Regions from separate parts of the Homo sapiens genome. Here all the other regions are linked to region 5. The links are contacts of gene promoters, found by promoter capture Hi-C in blood cells and fetal thymus (Javierre and others, 2016). All regions are on one chromosome and are shown on one strand. The core of a region is centred on a gene start or on the middle of the fragment in contact, and the rest is flanking DNA. Distances in the headings are between cores, read along the strand shown.

The links. Contacts are between HindIII fragments. The CHiCAGO score rates a contact against its expected background, and 5 or more counts as called.
Region 1: a fragment that was not itself captured here is called in contact with the fragment with the promoter of RCHY1 in region 5 in 2 of 17 cell types (naive CD4 T cells and total CD8 T cells); the score reaches 5.4 in naive CD4 T cells.
Region 2: the fragment with the promoter of HNRNPD here is called in contact with the fragment with the promoter of RCHY1 in region 5 in 1 of 17 cell types (total CD4 T cells); the score reaches 6.2 in total CD4 T cells.
Region 3: a fragment that was not itself captured here is called in contact with the fragment with the promoter of RCHY1 in region 5 in 1 of 17 cell types (non-activated CD4 T cells); the score reaches 5.2 in non-activated CD4 T cells.
Region 4: a contact is called between a fragment that was not itself captured here and the fragment with the promoter of RCHY1 in region 5, in 1 of 17 cell types (non-activated CD4 T cells). The highest score is 5.4, in non-activated CD4 T cells.
Region 6: a contact is called between a fragment that was not itself captured here and the fragment with the promoter of RCHY1 in region 5, in 1 of 17 cell types (total CD4 T cells). The highest score is 5.0, in total CD4 T cells.

Annotation. Positions count from the first base shown.
Region 1 is chr4:82,430,077-82,433,167 of GRCh38, reverse strand. It overlaps HNRNPDL (heterogeneous nuclear ribonucleoprotein D like), which reads left to right and starts at 2,706. Exons shown (of 8, transcript NM_031372.4): 1 at 2,706-3,091. ENOPH1 (enolase-phosphatase 1) reads right to left here and starts at 2,578. Exons shown (of 6, transcript NM_021204.5): 1 at 2,255-2,578. The coding sequence starts at 2,338. RefSeq lists enhancers at 1,988-2,087, 2,451-3,091 and silencers at 2,328-2,647, 2,768-3,091. The HindIII fragment of the contact is 225 bases long and covers 1,621-1,845 here.
Region 2 is chr4:82,372,689-82,375,676 of GRCh38, reverse strand. HNRNPD (heterogeneous nuclear ribonucleoprotein D) reads left to right here and starts at 1,686. Exons shown (of 9, transcript NM_031370.3): 1 at 1,686-2,231. The coding sequence starts at 1,999. HNRNPD-DT (HNRNPD divergent transcript) reads right to left here and starts at 1,109. Exons shown (of 2, transcript NR_183813.1): 1 at 1,012-1,109. RefSeq lists an enhancer at 1,558-1,727 and a silencer at 2,088-2,187. The HindIII fragment of the contact is 7,055 bases long and covers 560-2,988 here.
Region 3 is chr4:82,902,194-82,905,319 of GRCh38, reverse strand. It overlaps THAP9 (THAP domain containing 9), which reads right to left. Exons shown (of 5, transcript NM_024672.6): 2 at 389-584. Among named protein-coding and RNA genes, the nearest start is that of THAP9-AS1, 2.8 kb to the right of the region's middle. The HindIII fragment of the contact is 989 bases long and covers 1,382-2,370 here.
Region 4 is chr4:83,456,397-83,459,468 of GRCh38, reverse strand. MRPS18C (mitochondrial ribosomal protein S18C) reads right to left here. Exons shown (of 6, transcript NM_016067.4): 2 at 2,511-2,560; 3 at 1,040-1,123. Among named protein-coding and RNA genes, the nearest start is that of MRPS18C, 1.9 kb to the right of the region's middle. The HindIII fragment of the contact is 1,216 bases long and covers 891-2,106 here.
Region 5 is chr4:75,512,956-75,515,714 of GRCh38, reverse strand. RCHY1 (ring finger and CHY zinc finger domain containing 1) reads left to right here and starts at 1,312. Exons shown (of 9, transcript NM_015436.4): 1 at 1,312-1,518. The coding sequence starts at 1,429. It overlaps THAP6 (THAP domain containing 6), which reads right to left and starts at 1,242. Exons shown (of 5, transcript NM_144721.6): 1 at 1,195-1,242; 2 at 183-282. The coding sequence starts at 262. RefSeq lists enhancers at 547-766, 342-1,272, 1,107-1,586, 1,273-2,203. The HindIII fragment of the contact is 8,040 bases long and covers 1-1,552 here.
Region 6 is chr4:67,541,781-67,544,897 of GRCh38, reverse strand. CENPC (centromere protein C) reads left to right here. Exons shown (of 19, transcript NM_001812.4): 2 at 703-749. Among named protein-coding and RNA genes, the nearest start is that of CENPC, 2.2 kb to the left of the region's middle. The HindIII fragment of the contact is 193 bases long and covers 1,315-1,507 here.

The sequences.
Region 1 (3,091 bases), core at 484-2,983, 6.9 Mb before region 5:
TAATGATCTAATGCCACATCACTACCTCTCCTGTCCTTATCCTTGGTCTCCTGATGACCGCAGAAAGCAAGAGAGAGCCAGAGTGGAACGAGTGAGCTGTTAACTATAAATTACAAAAATGAGGACTCCTTTTTTCTCTGAAAACCAAGAAAGCGGTTACTCTGTCACAATCCAAAAAAAAAGGAAATTAATCAATCATCAGTATTTGTCCTGAAATTTTCCGCAGAGGTCTCTGGTGTGATTAAAAACGTGGGGGAAGGTCAGGCGCGGTGGCTCGCGCCTATAATCCCAGCACTTTGGGAGGCCGACACGGGAGGATTACCTGAGGTCAGACCAGCCTGGTCAACTAAAAATACAAAAATTAGCCGGGCGTGGTGGTGCGCGTCTGTAATCTCAGCTACTCGGAAGGCTGAGGCACCAGAATCGCTTGAACCCCGGAAGCAGAGGTTGCACCACTGTATTCCAGCCTGGGAGACAGAACAAGACTCTGTCTCAAACAAAACAAAACAAAACAAAACAAAACGTGGGGAAGAGGCCGGGTGCCATGGTTCACGCCTGTAATTCCAGCACTTTGGGAGGCTGAGGTGGGTGAATCACTTGAGGTCAGGAGTTTGAGACCAGCCTGGTGAAACCCTCTTCTACTAAAAATATAAAAATTAGCTGGGTGTGGTGGCACATGTCTGTAATCCCAGCTACTGGAGAGGCTGCGACAGAAGAATCGCTTGAAGCTGGGAGGCAGAGGTTGCAGTGAGCTGAGCTCACACCACTGCACTCCAGCCTGGGCAACAGAGCGAGACTCCGCCTCAAAACAAAAACAAAAACCGTGGAGAAAATGCTAAACTCGATTTCTTCTGAACCTATGCTAAGATGTCAAGGTACTGTGATTCTTCTAAAAGAATTTTAAAGGTTGTTATGTTTGGTGTCCTAAAAGTGTACATGGATTTTATATTATAACCTACATCAAGAAACTCATTCAGGCCAGGCGCCTTGGCTCATGCCTGTAATCTCAGCACTTTGGGAGGCCAAGAATTCCAGACTAGCCTGGGCAATATGGCGAAACCCCGTCTCTACAAAAAATACAAAAATTAGCCAGGCATGGTGGCTCTCCCTTCAGTCCCAACTACTCGAGAGGCTGGGGCAGGAGGATGCCTTAAGCCCAAGGAGGTAGAGGCTGCAGTGAGCTGTGATTGCACCACTCCACTCCACTCCAGCCTGGGAACAGAGTGAGACTCTCAAAGAAAAAAAAAAAAAAGCCTTATTCACAGATAATTTTTTTTAAAAATGGAAACTAAAATAGAATTTAAAACCCAAGCTGCTCAGTTTCTTGGAAGATGGATTTTTCCTACTTGGTAATATACTTTGTATATCTCGACTATTATTGTGCATGCAAGCACCTCTAAGAAGTACTTGTATCTGCAATGAATTCTTAAACCTCAGGGAGCCAAATAAAAAGACAAGGCCCGAGGAATTCTTTCAAAAATTAAAGTAACATTTCATATTTGCTTATTCTAACAGACAAAGAATAAAGAAGGAATCCGCTAAGTTGCAAGCTGAGGTGCAGACAAGTGCTGGTTCACAGTGACATCCTAGAAGGAATGCTCTGGATAAGAGCTTCAAGCTTCTGTGGTTTTCTGAGGAAAGTGAACGGAATCTAGACGTGTCCTATAGCTCAAAAAATCAGCGCTATGGACCACAGCGCCTAACAGAGTAAAATAATACACTGTGCAGTTTGGCCACTAACAGCAAGAGTGGGAAGGGGCGAAGAGGAACCTTGATTGCCCGACACCAGGGCCACCTGAAAAGTCATCTTGACACTTCAGTCTTTCCATTTTGAGATCGGAAGCTTTAAGGACCATTAAATCGCTGCCGCTGCCACACCAGGCCCGACGGAGCAGAAAGGCTGCGCTCACCTGCGGAAGCGACCGGGTGCACACCTGCCGGGTGGCGAGGCCCGCACCGTCACACCCCGCCCCGGCTTACCTGCCCTTCGGTGATTTTTAGCGTCAACTTCCATCCCTTCCCACCCATCTGGATCCAACCAAGCGCAAGGGCGGGGGAGGGAGAAGCTAGTGTCGCGAGGAAAAGCATCCCCGCAACCCACCGCAGGCTTTCTCTCCTTCCTCCCCATTCCACACAAGAGGCAGCCACACCGCCTCTCCTAACCCTCGTCTCCAATGCAAGGCCTGAAATACTTAGAAAAAATAATAACTGTTTTTAAGGAAAAGTAACATCCCCGCTCCCTTCCGCCCCTCACCTTCACGAAAGCAATCGGGGTTGTGGTACCTTCGATATCTAACAGGATCACGGTGACTTCGGCGGGGACCGAAAGCACGACCATTTCCCTACCGGATGCTACGGGACTCGGCCTGCTGTTGGGGAGGGCGGAGGGCGGCGCCGGCTGCGGCTGCGGCCCCCGGTACCGTCTTGGGCTTCCGGCGGCCCCGCGCGATCTCGGAGCCAGCGACCAAGTGCAGCCCGCCGCGCGTGGGGAGAGGACACTTCTGCACACCTGGAACTGGAAAAGGCGGCCGCCCAGGAGCCCTGAACTCGTGAGCAGGACGGGGCAGGAGCCCGAGACCACGTGGGCAGGAAAAGGGGCGGCCCTTGACGGGTTCGGCGGGGCGGGGAGGGTGAAGGCGCCAGCGCCGATTGGCCGCCGTCAGGCCTCGAACTGGATCCGTCAAAATGGGCCTCGCGTGGGCGGGAACAAAGAAGCGAACGCGGGAGCAGGGTGCGCGAGAGCGCGCCCTCCGCAGACAGGTTGAGCGAGCGGGAGAGGCCCGGGGCACGTGCAGAAAGGAGCCCCGCGAGTGGCGCGCCGGGGATGTGAGTGCCCCTTGCCCTCTACTGAATCCAGCCCCCTCCCCGCCCACCGCCTCCGCCTTTGCATAGATACAGTCATCTGGCCAGCCCCCGCCCCTCCTCCCGGCGTCAGCCCGCCAGAGGCCGCGCGGGGCCCGGGCTTCGGCCGATCAGCCCGGGAGGCCCCGCCGCGCCCCCTTGGCCCGCGCGCCCGTGGTCACAGTGGAAGAGGCGCCCGCGCTGCGCTGCCCGGAGGAGCCGTCGCGCGCCCGCTTCCTGTTCGGCTGGT
Region 2 (2,988 bases), core at 437-2,936, 6.9 Mb before region 5:
GAGTTTTAATTATTCTGTAATGTAAATTCTACTAACTTGATTAATAAAACTTACTTATAATCTTCCTTTGAGATTTTTGGATAGTGTCCAATTAATACAAATTCGTTTAACTGCAGTGGAAAATACCTAAACTTTTTTTTTTTTTTTTTTTTTGAGACGGAGTCTCGCTCTGTCGCCCAGGCTGGAGTGCAAGTGGCATGATCTCGACTCCCTGCAATCTCCACCTCCCGGGTTCAAGCGATTCTCCTGCCTCAGCCTCCTGAGTACCTGAGATTACAGGTACCGGCCACCACGCCCGGCTAATTTTTGTATTTTTAGTAGACACGGGGGTTTCACCATGTTGGTCAGGCTTGTCTCGAACTCCTGACCTCGTGATCCGCCCGCCTCGGCCTCCCAAAGTGCTGGGATTACAGGCGTGAGCCACCGCGCCCGGCCCAAATACTTAAACTCTTAAGATTTTTGCTGGAGTCTGCAAACTCGTCTTTGTTTCCCCCGTGCCCGAACACTTTAATTAAACAGGCAAATAATTATTTGTTGACTACAGAAGTACCTAGAAGCTTCATTTTCTTCTAAGGATACTGCTGGAAGCAGCAAATCCCAAAGCCCGAATAATCCAGTCTCCAGCCGAGGCAGCGGGAATTTTTAATAGGTGTATAAAATTACTTTTTATACACCTTAATGAAACGCCTAACGGTGTTACAAGAAAAGAAAAAAAAAAACCACGCACACACAACAAAAAAGCCAAACCCGAACACAAACTCATAAACCTCGTAAAGATGACTCACGACATTTATATATTCTATGTACAAAGGCTAAAGAACATTAAGCGAACCCTTGATTTAACACACTTTCCAATTATTAGTAACGTAAAGGAATCACGGTACGTTTTAGGATCTTTAAACAACAAAAGCAAAGCAAAAACAATGTTTTCCTTAAGATATGCAAGTTACCTGCTTCTTCGACCAAAAACAAAAAAATTCCAGGAGAAAAGCAGGCAAACAAAAATCTTACTTGGAAAGCCAAATCTTAAAAAGAAGCCCTATCGGCCCAGCGGCGATAGACGAAAACCTCAATGTCACCCGGTCCCGGGCGGCGACGGCAGGGAGAGTAGCTGCGGCAATCAGTGCGCGCGCGGTCCGCTGCGGCGCCTGGCGCTCCGCGGGCGTCCGGGTGGACAGCGCCAGGGGCACAGGGCTGACATCTCAGGGCTAATTCCCTCCTCCAGTGCGTAAATCCAGGCTTAAGCCGCCGCAGGGTGTGAGCCTCCCCTCCCCCACCCGAACGCCGCAGCTGCACGGGGCACGACAGCCTTCGCAGAGGTGCAGCCACACCCCGGCCTAACGCTGCTGCTCCCGCCGCTACTGGAGTGGTGGGGAGGGGTGAGTGGACTCCAGGAATCCTCGGAAGGGCGGGGGCGGAGGCAGGGGGCCCCTCTAGCCGCTACTTCGAAACAGCACTCCTTGTTCTCGATGGTCCCCGCGCGACTGTCTTAGCTCACGACACTTCCGGTTCCTTTTAAAGGCCCCCAAGGCTGTGCAACGCGGAGCGTGAGAGGAAGGTATAAAGGGTAGCGAGAGGGCGGGACCGAGGAGGAAAGGGAAAAAAAAAAAACTAGGGGGATAGGGGTGGGGGGACGCGCGAAGGGCGCGCTCTCGCGTCACGTGACCGGGACGCGCCGTTCTTCCGTCGGCCATTTTAGGTGGTCCGCGGCGGCGCCATTAAAGCGAGGAGGAGGCGAGAGCGGCCGCCGCTGGTGCTTATTCTTTTTTAGTGCAGCGGGAGAGAGCGGGAGTGTGCGCCGCGCGAGAGTGGGAGGCGAAGGGGGCAGGCCAGGGAGAGGCGCAGGAGCCTTTGCAGCCACGCGCGCGCCTTCCCTGTCTTGTGTGCTTCGCGAGGTAGAGCGGGCGCGCGGCAGCGGCGGGGATTACTTTGCTGCTAGTTTCGGTTCGCGGCAGCGGCGGGTGTAGTCTCGGCGGCAGCGGCGGAGACACTAGCACTATGTCGGAGGAGCAGTTCGGCGGGGACGGGGCGGCGGCAGCGGCAACGGCGGCGGTAGGCGGCTCGGCGGGCGAGCAGGAGGGAGCCATGGTGGCGGCGACACAGGGGGCAGCGGCGGCGGCGGGAAGCGGAGCCGGGACCGGGGGCGGAACCGCGTCTGGAGGCACCGAAGGGGGCAGCGCCGAGTCGGAGGGGGCGAAGATTGACGCCAGTAAGAACGAGGAGGATGAAGGGTGAGTAAGGGGCATCCCAGGATAGTCAGGCCCAACTAGTCCCCCTCCCCCTCTTTATTCCCCCGCCATTAGGCCTGGTTCCCGCTCTCAGCCCGTTCTCCGGGCCCCCATGCAGCCTCCTTGCACTGGTCTCCCTTTTTCTATGTTGGGTTCCCCGGACCTTCATTTCCTTCTTCCTTTGCCTGCTTATCGCCCCCCTCCCCCATCACACACGTTTCCACCTTTAGCCGTCACCATGCTGCTCCTCGGCCCGCCCTCCTTTCCTCCCTCGCCATGGGTCTCCTCCCACCGACTTAGCCGCCAGGATTTTTTCCCGCCTGTCGTGGGGTACCTTTTTTCTTTCCATGCTGTCCCCTCTTTTTCCCTTTTTCTACAGTCTTGGGCATAAAAACACAGACACAAACAGCTTCTCTGTTTGTATTACTAAGGTTTATTTGGTGCTTCTCCACCATCCTGAAACGATGCGATTGTTTATAAGCACATGTTTTGGGGAACGCGTAGGCTGTCCACCTCTGCCTCTCCCTTGTCGGCCTTAGGCCGACTGTTTTCTTGGGATTTTGAATAAGTTTCGCCTAAGGATTTACTCATTTTCTCCACCATACGCTATCGCACAATGGCATACTCATACAGGCCCTACATTTTGACATGCAGACCAAATTGGGTCTGGTGAAATGCTCCGAGTTTCTTGTTGGTACATTGGTTTTGCTCCGCGGGCTCTGGTTAAGTTCTTAGTCGATCGGGCCTGCACTTGACTGGA
Region 3 (3,126 bases), core at 627-3,126, 7.4 Mb before region 5:
TTAGGTATATTTTTGATCAAGATAAATAACATTATTAGGAGGAACCAAAAAACATAGATAATTTCAAAGTACTATGAAAGCTGTCTCATACTTAACAAAAGCCTGTATTCTAAGGCTATTTATATCTACCAGTTGATTTTTGCAATTGGTTAGTAACCTTTATATATATCTAGACAAATGATTTGCATTTATATAGTTTTTTAAAAGCTCCAGAACAAATGCTAATATATATAATTTTTTTTTTAAATTTTCAAAGCATTTAAAATCTATTACTGGATTTAAGACTTGGGTTTTTTTGTCTGCAAATTCTAGCTATAATGGGGGCTATCTTGATTTTTAAAGGCTCTGTAAATTTTCATTTTGTTGACTTACACCTACATTTAAATACCTTGTATAGAGAAACAGAAGGCACAGCTCCTTTTTTCAGCTTTCTTCTTATGCCATATGACTCAAAGTCACTTTCTTGAAAATGTTTGGAACACAGTATAGCACCTGGTCCTGGAATCCAAATCTTTTTGCTTCTGGGGTCCACACGATTAACAGCCCTGATCCATTTTGAGCGCTGTATGGTATCAGTTGGAAATCTATGACAATCACATTAAAGTTCCATTAACATGAAAACATTATAGTACTATTACAGTAGTATTTATTATATAAACCCATCTATTATTTTACTGCTTTATAGAAACATAAAGCCAAGTGAATTAAAAGTTTAATTTACTTAGTTCATTTTTCAAAGTTCTTTGATTTTTTTTAATCCAAAGGTTCAATATCTGATTTTTCTTTGTCAATCATAGAGGGGCAATTCCCATATTAAAAATCCTACTATATTTTGTCTTCACTTCCTACACTTAATAGAATTTGCTCAAATTTAAATGGTTAAAGAATATATGCATCTTTTCCTTTCCTGTAGTGATTTTAAACTATTTGGTACTCTTCCTTTTAAGAAGTGAAGCCTGGCTGGGTGCAGTGGCTCATGCCTGTAATCCCAGCACTTTGGGAGGCTGAGGCGGGAGGATCAGCAGTCAGGAGTTCAAGACCAGCCTGGACAACATGGTGAAACCCCGTCTCTACTAAACATATAAAAAATTAGCCGGACGTGGTGGCGGGTGCCTGTAATCCCAGCTACTGGGGAGGCTGAGGCAGGAGAATCTCTTGAATCCGGAGGTGGAGGCTGCAGTGAGCCGAGATCGCACCATTACACTCCAGCCTGGGCAACAAGAGTGAAACTCCGTAACAAAAAAAAAAAAAAAAAAAAAAAGGGGGAGCCTAATTCCCCTCCCCTTGAGTGAGTATGGGCTAGAGTTAGTGATTTGCTAAGGAATGGAAAAAGAACATGTGACAGTAAGTGACCACAGACTACGTCATAAAGGAACAAGCTTTCCTCCTTGCTCTCTGTAGAGAATGGTTTGCTCTGTGGTAAGGTATCTGGCATGTTATAAAGCAGTCCTGTGGAGAAAACTAGTTGGTGAGGAACTGAGGCCTCCAGTCAAAGGCCATGTTGAGTTAGTCTTTTTGAAAGCAGGTGACTTCAGCCTTCAGATGAGTGCAATCTTATGAGATACTGTAACATCGAGCTACACTCCTGAATTCCTGACCCTCAGAAATGTGTGAGATAAAAATGTTTATACTGAATTTTGAGGTAACTTGTTATGCAGCAGTAGAAAACAAGACAAGTATATTTACTATATTGTTTTTTCATGTTTAAAGGCACTACTTTTTCCTAGCCTTGATTATAAAAATTACCTTGCATTTATTTATTTTTCAATCCAAGCCAAATTATGTTTAGAAACTTGTCGGCCAGGCGTGGTGGCTCACGCCTGTAATCCCAACACTTTGGGAGGCCGAGGCGGGCGGATCACTTGAGGTCAGGAGTTCAAGACCAGCCTGGACAACATGGTGAAACCCTGTCTCTAATAAAAATACAAAAATTAGCCGGGCCTGGTGGCTCCCACCTGTAATCCCAGCTACTAGGGAGGCTGAGGCAGGAGAATCGCTTGAACCTGGGAGGCAAAGTTGCAGTGAGCCAAGATAGTGCCACTGCACTCCAGCCTGGGCGACAGCAAGATTTCATCTCAAAAAAGAAAAGAAAAAGAAACTTGTGAAATTAACACAATAAAAAGCACAAAACTACTCTTTCTGCCCCTTCTTCTTTGACGTTATCTTAGAGACAGACTTATAGGTAACTATGCTTTTTGTGTATTTTAATTTAGACTTTAAAACACATAGTTACTAGAACTGAGATTGGTATAAATTTTATTTCTCAGCTAAATGCTACAAAAATATAGCAGCATGGTAAAACATAATTCTGATATGCTCTCTAAATCACCTTGAGAAAGAACTCTGAATTGGAAAACCTGTATTTAAGCTTCAGTGACCTTCTACCAGCTATATGGTATTAGACACATCTCTCAATCTTAGAACTTCCTCACAGGGCTGTAGTAAGAGTGTATGAGGCTACAAATGTATTCAAAATCACTTTGTAAACTGTAAAGTACTATCCAAAGTTCGATCTTTCCTAAGAACAACTAATTCCATTTCTGGGATTATAATTTTATTGTTCTAAGAAGATGATGATACTTGATCAAGGGCAAATGAACAGGGAATTCTTTTTCCAATAAAGTTGGGGCAAATCTATCTTTTTTCACTGAGTTCTTTTCTAACTCATGGAACATATTTTGCAAGGGAGCTTTTCCACAGATTGGGTATAGTCTCTAAACGTGCAAGGAACCCTCAAAAGTTGGCTGGTCCAACAACTTCTATTACTAGCGTGGTCCTCTGATGCAAAGCTTCCCAACAGGTATGCCTAGTGAGTACAGCTGTTGATATTCTTAGTCCATGGGGTGGGCTGGGACACCTGAGTAGTTACTTGAAGGCAGCCCCAAACAGTGCTGTAGGTTTGCCCCAAAGTATTGAACAATTATTTCCTATGCGTAAAATGCTATGAAAAAGGCTGGGGCTGGGCAGGGTGGCTCATGCCTGTAATCCCAGCCAAGAAGTTGGAGACCAACCTGGGCAACACACTGAGACCTCATCTCTACCAAAAAAAAAAAAAAGCCGGGATGGTGGTCTGTGCCTGTAGTCCCATGAGGCTGAGGTGGGAGGATCACTTGAGCCTGGGAGATA
Region 4 (3,072 bases), core at 249-2,748, 7.9 Mb before region 5:
CTAAAATATTGCTTGAAACAAGCTACTAAAAAATTTCATCTATCCTGACAAGCTATCACATTACCCTCTGATAATCATTAAGATAAATTATCAGGGGGTAATGAGATTTTCAAGAGGTACAAGTACACCAGGCATTTGCTATAATTTATGTTTTATTTAAATACTTCTTTAGAACCTTTCTAGGTGCTAGTCATTATTCTTGGCACTTTGCATAATCTTCCTAGTATGTGTGTTTTTGTAATTCTTGGTTCTTCCTCAAAGGCAGCTATCACTTTATACTATTGTCAATATATGGAATTCTTTTTTTTTTTTTTTTTTTTTTTTGACAGAGTTTTACTCTTGTCACCCAGGCTGGAGTGCAATGGCACGATCTCAGCTCACTGCAACTTCCGCCTCCTGGGTTCAAGCAAATCTCCTGCCTCAGCCTCCCAAGTAGCTGGGATTACAGGCATGCACCACCACACTCAGCTAATTTTTGTATTTTTAATAGAGACGGGGTTTCACCACATTGGCCAGGCTGGTCTCAAACTCCTGACCTCAGGTGATCCGCCCGCCTTGGCCTCCCAAAGTGCTGGGATTACAGGCGTGAGCCACCACACCCAGCCAACATACAGAATTCTAGCGCTATTCACTTGCCCCAAATTTGCAACTTCTAACTTGCTGAGAGTTAGACAAGAGATAAGTAATATGTGAATCAGTGATATGGGTGGTGAGATAAAGAGATCAGCTTCACCAGATGAGCTTTTTCCAAAGTTCTGACCCTCACCAATTGAGAATTACTGCCACAGGGAGCTATTAAGATGTTTGGGGTAGTGAAAAAAACAGAGTGGAAATAACAGTAAGTGGGGGAAAGCCAAGGTGCTTTTACTTGAATAAAGCAGAGATAAGCTTATACATAGAATTATAACCAAATTTGAAATTATGAAGTTGCTAAAACAGTTACCTCTACAAAAGCCTGCTATAAACTGACTTGATTCTCTTTAAGCAGATCTATCAGAAGCAAAACCCTAAAATATAGTGAAGTAAAACCAGATCTCACCTGTACATTCTTATAATCTACATGCTTTCCACACAAGATACATTTCTTAAGAGGTTCTTTATAAGGATTTTCCATTGAAATGGGCTAGGGAAAAAAACGAAAAGTCTGATAATAGGATGTGTTAATTCTGAATTTTAAAAGGTTACTATTCTACATTCAAATCCATTCAAAGGATTAGTTATACCTTTCTTACTGTGTACATATTTTGTATAAGCACTTTATTTTGTTTTAGTTTAGCCTACGGATTAACGCATGGGAAGATTCTGGAATAAAGTACAATCTTCATAGAATAAAATTTTATGGCAGAACAAAAATGATGTCTGATAAGAAAGTGTTCCAATGCTTTGCTCAGATTGTAGATAATGAAAAAATTTTTAGATTTAAGGAAACTTACAACACAATAGATAACATATGCCATTCTTAAATGAGTACAATCCCTAATTTATCCATCCCCATGTCTCTATCAAGTATTTTATCACTATTTTTATACACAGATAATGGCCCATGACTTACTGTAATAAAAGGTTCTTTGACTTTATCACCCCAGGCTACTATATAAGTTTGTATCAGTCTTTTTGGCTTTTCTGTTACCACCACTGCCTCTAATGCTTTTGTCACAGTGCCTCCTTCCTACAGTCAGTATGGCTGTCTCCAGGATAGAGGTTCTTAATCTAGAAATGGCTTTGAAGCCCATGACTCCCTGTAATCGTATGCAAAACTTCAAATGAATGGGACTGTGTGCCTTTTTCTGTGGAGAGGGTCCATAACTTTGATTAGAGACAAAGTGGGATTTATGAACTAAAAAAGAAATAATGTCCCTTTACTTTCTTAAAGTATGGTGCATGGATTAGATTACCAAGACAGATGCTCAGAGAAACTAGACAAGTTCTTTTGTTTTTTCCAATTCCTCAAACTTTCCAATTTACATTCAGCTCACGTAACTACTCTTCAGCTCTGTGCCAAGTGCTTTGTATGGTCTAATTAGTGTCAAAATACCTTTGCATGTAGCAAGAACCTGTGCTTTCAGAAAGTCCATGTTAATACTATAGCCAACCTATAGCTAAGCTTTGTACAGTCTCTTTTCAGTTATCTAAAATTCTGCTCACCCAAACTACCTTTTAAAATTCCCATATCATTTGCTTACAAAGGGCTATGTAAAAAAAAAAAAAACAATTCCCAAATCACATATCCTTAAATTTAAGATCTAGGAAGAAAAATATGGTATTATAGCAGCTTTGCTTCTAATCTAGGAATTCCCCTACTTCAAAACTCAGCTGACTACATGACTACAATCAATTCATCATCATTTCTGAACTCAGAGTAATTATCAAATTGTTTTGTCCTACGGCAGAACTCTATTCAAGTAGCTAAAATAAAAGATGTTAGAGTCTAATACCAGATCTCGTTTTAAAAAGAAAAACATTTTGGTCATATTTGCAAAGGCCTTACTAATAGAAAAAAAAATTCTTACCAGGTCCTCATTGCTGGATACCTGTTGTGAACAACCTCTTCTCCAAAGCACTGCGATTAAACAGAAACAGCAATTAACCATTTCTTTTTCTTAGCTGAATAGCTAAAGATTTTTGTTTTTATGGAGACAGGATGAATTAAGGGACACGATATTAAAGAAAGGTTTTGTATTATATTCAGAATGGTTAAAAACTTTTATATTTGGGACAGAGTAAGACTCAACATGGGTGTGCTTTCCAGGGCTTAGGGGGAAAAGAACATATTTTCCCGCCCATACCTGCTCTTTCTGACATTTATTTTCCCTTCATTCCATGGTTAGAGAAAATTCTTAATGCAAATTCTTATAGGAGAAGCAACAGAAAGGCACTGTCATACCAAAAAGAAAGTAACAGACCCGTCCCAGAAAGAATTTATAGAGAAGCACAGAGAAGATAAAATTGCAAAAATTATGCAATTTTGTTCTGTTTGGGGACCTTAGACATCTGGAATTTGCTGCTGGGCGACTCTGGAAATGTCCCTTCCTCACTAAGATTATCCAGAGATCTTAGGAAAGTCTCTGCTTT
Region 5 (2,759 bases), core at 63-2,562:
TTAAAACTTTTAAACTAAATTATAAACATGTAAAGGTATCACATTGTCACTTCAAATTTAACAAAAAGGTTATTTAAAAAGGACTCGGGAACTAAAGTTCAAAATTGAAGACTTAAGTAGAACTGTCTTTTGCTTTTTATAACATGGCCAAAGTATTTGGCTTAACTACAGCAAAATCTTACACGTGAAATGTCAGTCCTTTTAACTTCGAATTTGGCAAGCAGCGAGAAGCACATCCAATGGCGGAGCAGCATTTCACCATTTTAGCAACTCATAACAAAACTGAAAGAAAATTAGAATGTTAAGAGTTAGTAACCGGAAAGCTGAAGGGGAATATTTTCCCTTTCCCGGTGTTTTAGGAAACACAAAATCAGGATAGAAAGCTAAAGACAAATATCTTCTTCTAACACCTGCAGCTTTGCTTACATCATTTTCCAGGGCCTTGACTCTTTAATAAGGAGAAACATATTTAGCTGTGTACCCCGAGTATGATTTCAATTTTGTTGGCTTGTACATTTTCCTTCCACCTTCTAACAGGTACCATGTTCTTTGTGCCACAAAGCCTTTTGCACACTAACTCCTACCCATCTTTCAGCCCTCGGCTTGCATCGCTTCCCCAGGGAAGCCTTCCCTCACTGACACTCAGATTGTCAGAGCTGCTCTAATATTAGCTCTCACAGGACACACACTTCTTCCTAGCACTTCTCCAGGTTGTAATCTTACATTTATTGCAGTGATTGCTCTTATTAATGTCTTCCTCCTCCACCAGTCTTGTTAGTTCCATGAGGTCATGGTGGAGTGTGTCTATTTTTCCTTACTTTTTGTCCTCACGGTTTAGCTGGTGACTGGCAATAGTGAATGTCAGTACATATTTTGAAAGAACAGCAAGTAAACGGGAAAGGGAGGAAGCAAGAAGCACTTCGAGGTGCCAGCGAGCACCCTGGCGTCCAAGAGCAGCGCGCGGGACCCGCTGAGCCCAGGGCCCGGGCCGAGCTCCGCCCCTTTCTCCAGGCTCCCCGCCACCGGAGGGAGAGAGGGAGGACCCGTCACAGGTAACGATGCGCCCAGTGAGCGTCCTTTCCTCTGGGGCCAACCAGCGTCTCCGCGCCGCTGCCGCCAACCTCGCGCCGAACTACGCCCTGAGATTTGGGCGGGTAGCGATTGGGGGAAAACAGGCAACCTAAGAGTTATTACCGTTAGCAGCGAAGACTGCGACTAACGTCAACGACGGAGACTGCGTCTGCCTTCGCTTCCGCCTCGTAGCCCCGGGAACCGGAAATCCGTCTGCCCCGGGTCACGTGCTTAGGAGCCATATTGTCGCTAGTGGCCGCTGGGGCTGGGAGGGGTGTGCTAGAGAGGCGCAGCTTCTCTGGGCGTGGTTTTTATCCTGGGGGAAGGATCGGTGGAATGTGAGGGGAGGTGGAGGAGATGGCGGCGACGGCCCGGGAAGATGGCGCCAGCGGTCAAGAGCGAGGTCAGCGGGGCTGCGAGCACTATGACAGAGGATGTCTCCTAAAGGTGACGCCTTCTATGGACTCTTCCCTGACAAGCTTCCGTCAGGTTGGGCTGGGGCGGGCTGGGCAGGTGGTTAGGCTTGGATTTAAGTTTGAGGTTAACCTGATTTTCAGGATACCTTTTCCACCTGGAACTGGGTTCTTCTTGAGGAGAACGTTTTTGGCAAGGCGATAAGCCCCACCTTTCCTACCTGCTTCGTACCTTTAAAGCAAAACCCTTCTTGGGAAGTGATTAGGCTTGCACAGTGGTCTCTGCCAGTGGGCTTATTCGTCTTTTGCTGCCGAAGTAGACTGAGGCAGCCCCGGGCCTGTACTGGGGTTTTCCGTTCAGGTGTGTGATGAAATAATGGAAGTGGAGATAATGGAAATAAGCAAGTGGAGAACCCGAATACGATTTCAGCTCCTGTGGTAAAGTTTTATAGCCTGCCAGCTTCATGTTAAAGGCAGTGCACATGTTCAGACGTAGGAGAAAACGTGTGTCCCAAAAAAGAAGACAATCATGTAATTGCCATTAAATAGGAAATTATGCATAGGAAAGTGCCTAATAAGCATGTATTGTTACTCTGAGAAAACTTCTTAATCTGTATTTTTTTTTAAATTGGCACGTATTCAATTGAAGTTTCCTGATTTTCCTTGCAAGAAACAGTACAAAAATTTTGCTTAGAAAACTTGAGCTTTGGAACCTCAACCGCCCTATCCCCAAATCTTAGCTCTCCTCTTTAATAACTGATTTTAGCTAGCTCCTCTCTACCCCGTATGTAAAATGGAGATGATCGCGCCTGTTTCATAAAAGTGTATGAGGATTATATACTAAAGGGCGTGTATAGTGTTTAACAGGGCGCATTCCCTGAAGTAAATGAGTAGTAAATATATACCACCATGACTGTTACTATCATCGTCAATCTGAGTATTATTATTTTTTGTTCTTTCACTTCACAAGTCAGCCTTGCTGGTCACTGCCTCATTATTAGAAGCAAGTTCAAGTCTCAGGCCTGTACGTGCATCCTAAACTCTTTTCTATAGGTCATGGCTTGACGAACATTGCTCCACTGAACTGGATGAAGCTCCTTAAAAATGTTGGTCATCCACCAAGTGTTGTGTAAGGAAATTGAATGCTATCCTTATGATTCAATTTCTACTGAGATGTATTATTATTCTTTCAAACTTGAGGTCTAAAACGGAATTTAACATCTTGGTGCCCCCCATAAACCACACAATTAGATCTGTGTATCATAGCACTAAGAT
Region 6 (3,117 bases), core at 162-2,661, 8.0 Mb after region 5:
TCACACTTGGTAGTTGGGAGAAACAGATTATGTAACAAGTACGTCTCGAAATAATTTGACGTTTTCAGTTCTTCTGTCAAAATGGTGGCCTTTTATGCAGTTCTTGAGGCTGATTTATGGAGCATATGTTATTGACAAACTCTTCTGAAAGACAGCTATCAGTTAAAAGGTACAAGCTGTGAATGACTAATGGGGGCGACAACTCATTTTGTTTACATATTTCTGGACTTCTTTGGTGTTCACTATTCTATATTTCATACTTTGGTTATGGTTACTATATAAAAATCCGTATCATTTCTTTTCTAATTTATCTCCCCTTCTAAGAAAATCTTCAGCTTCGATGATCTCCCATTATGTGACGTTATACATATAAACATAAAGAGTTGTATGAAAGAATAATATAATCTATACTTTTTACTATGAGCACATATATTGTTTACATTATATATAATCAGAAGAAAGCAATAAAGCCATTCTCACTGTGGGGAGAGAAGCGGAATAAAGCTTACCAGATGCCTGCAGTTCAGTTTTTAAATGCCTGTCATAACCTATGTTATGTCATAACATAACCTCAAAATTGTTTTGAGCCCTTAGGAGATGTTTGGTGTATAGCATGCCCATACTGGATGAAGTTACTTTGAAAATAAATTTTACTCGACTCTATCTTAAAGAAACCAAATTGATGATTTACTTTTCTTTCAGGATCATCTCAAAAATGGCTACAGAAGAAGATTTTGTCGACCTTCCAGGTGATTTACGTACTTAAGCTTTTAAGATTATTTTTATTCTCATCGTTAATAGATTTTTAAATGAAGAAAGGAAAAACTATCACCTCTGACTAATATAATGATTTCTGTGCCCACTGATTAAGGGTAGTCATCTTATACTAACGGGAATGTTAATGCAAGCAGTGCAATGACTTTGTGGCTGTGAAAAAAGAAATTCACCTGATAAAATAGTGGAACCAGGAAGAGGGAGTCTCAGTTCTGACTAAGTGACTGCCATGGGAAAAGCATTTTGTAGAATGAATCAAATGGTAAAATTAGAAAGATGTAGCTTATTCAGTGGGGCAAAAAGAAAAATAGTACATGCTGTCGTGCATTTGTTGAGTGCTTGTTTGGGTTGTTTTGGTTCTTCTTTTAGTTGTAAAACCTGTAAAAAGTAAATTTTCTAGTTAAATATTTACTAGTAATAGGATGAAAAGCATGTTTTTAAAAGTGAAGATGTTATTATGAATAACGTCATGTTTATTGAGCTGTGATTTTAGTAGGTCCAATGGGGCACAGAAGTATGTTCTTTTGTTTACAAGAAGCTTAGATTTCTGTTGGGAAAATGTATATGTACATTTGTGAAACAATTTAATGGACAAAAATTATTACTTGCAATACTGAAGTAATGACTTGTGTATCATAGAGAGTAGGCCTATATATAATTAGGCATTAACTTGCAGTATAGACAGCCATGTGAGAAATTAGGGATTTGTGTGTTGTTGATATTAAGAAAAGCTTTAAAGTTGTAGTGTAACTTTGGTGGACCTTGAACAGGTATTTAAAGACTAAGATAAAGTATATTCCAGACATAGAAAGTAACTTAACGAAGGAACCAAAGTAGGAATACATATATTTGTCAGTAGCAGAGAGACCTGATTTAAGAAGGTTGAATATGTTGGGTAGAAGTGGAAAACAAGACCATATGAGTTGGATTGAGCCATAAAATGGATATGTTAGGCTTTAGGCATCTATTATAGGCTTGAATAAGCTCTCCTAAATCTTCTGTGGAATAAGGGCTATCTGATATAAACACACACACACATTTAAAAAAGCAAAGATGTTTGATGTTTACAAAGTAGCTTAAGGAGGGTGTTGTAGTAATCTACACATGGTGGAGGTGCTTTTATGCTAAGGTAATAATGACAAAGGGGAAGAAAAGACGAATTTGATAAATTTTGAAAAAGCTGTTGCCTAATGTGACCTGCGTTCTAATAGTGACTCTGCATTATCACCTTGGCAAATCTGATCTTTTTGGATCTCATCCTTGAAACAGGTAATAGCAGGAGTGTATTTATAGCTGTGCAATATGTGCACCTGTAGGTGGTATTTTGGGGTGATGTCAAGGCCAGAATTTATAATAGTCACCTATATATATTCTGGTAGAAAACCGGCCACTAATACTACTTAGGTTTACAAACTGAGGTAGGCCATTTGACCATTTTGGGTTTCAGTTTGCCTATCTGCAAAATGAGGGCATAGGATTCAGCTAGGGGTTTTTAACTAGATTTGCACATCAGAATTACCTCCATCACCCTAGGAAATCTAATTAAATTGGTTTGTGGGAAGTGACCAATTAAGTGTATTTCTGCAAAGCTCCAAAAGTAACTTTACACATCTATTTGGATGATGATTATTGGACTGGATGATTTCTGAGATCTTTCAGTTATAAAACTTTATGATGGATGACCTGATAATGCACTGTGGCTCACAGTTTTTAATTACTGCATATATAGTACTTTTCCAGCTCTCAATAATAGGAATGTTGTAGATCAGGGATCAGTAAACTCTGGCTGATAGGCCAGCCAAATGTTTTGTCACAGGTTTTATTTCAATTTTATTGGAACACAGCCATGCCTCTTTGTTTACATACTGTCTGTGGTTGCTTTTGGGCTAGAATGGGAGAGTCGACTGGTTGTGACAGAGACTATGGTTTACAAGCCTAAAATATTTACCATCTGGCCCTTTAAGCAAAAGTTTGTCCACTCTGTTAGAGATGCATGTCAATTTTATACTGATTGAAATCCAGATGTTCTTCAACAGGTAAATGGTTAAACACTGTGGTACACACATAGCATGGAACATTACTTGACTCTAAAAAGCAATGAAATATTGGTACATTCAACTTGGATTTATTTCCATAGAATTGTGTTGAGTGAAAAAAGCCAAGGCAAGAGGATACATGTTGTATGATTCTATTTACATATAATTGTTTCCACATGACAGAGTTTTAGAAATGGAGGACAGATTAGTGGTTGCCAGAGGTTAGGAATGAGAGGAGGCAGGAAGGAGATGAGAGAAAGGTGGTTATGATTACAAAAGGACAATAGAGGATCTTTGTGATGATGGA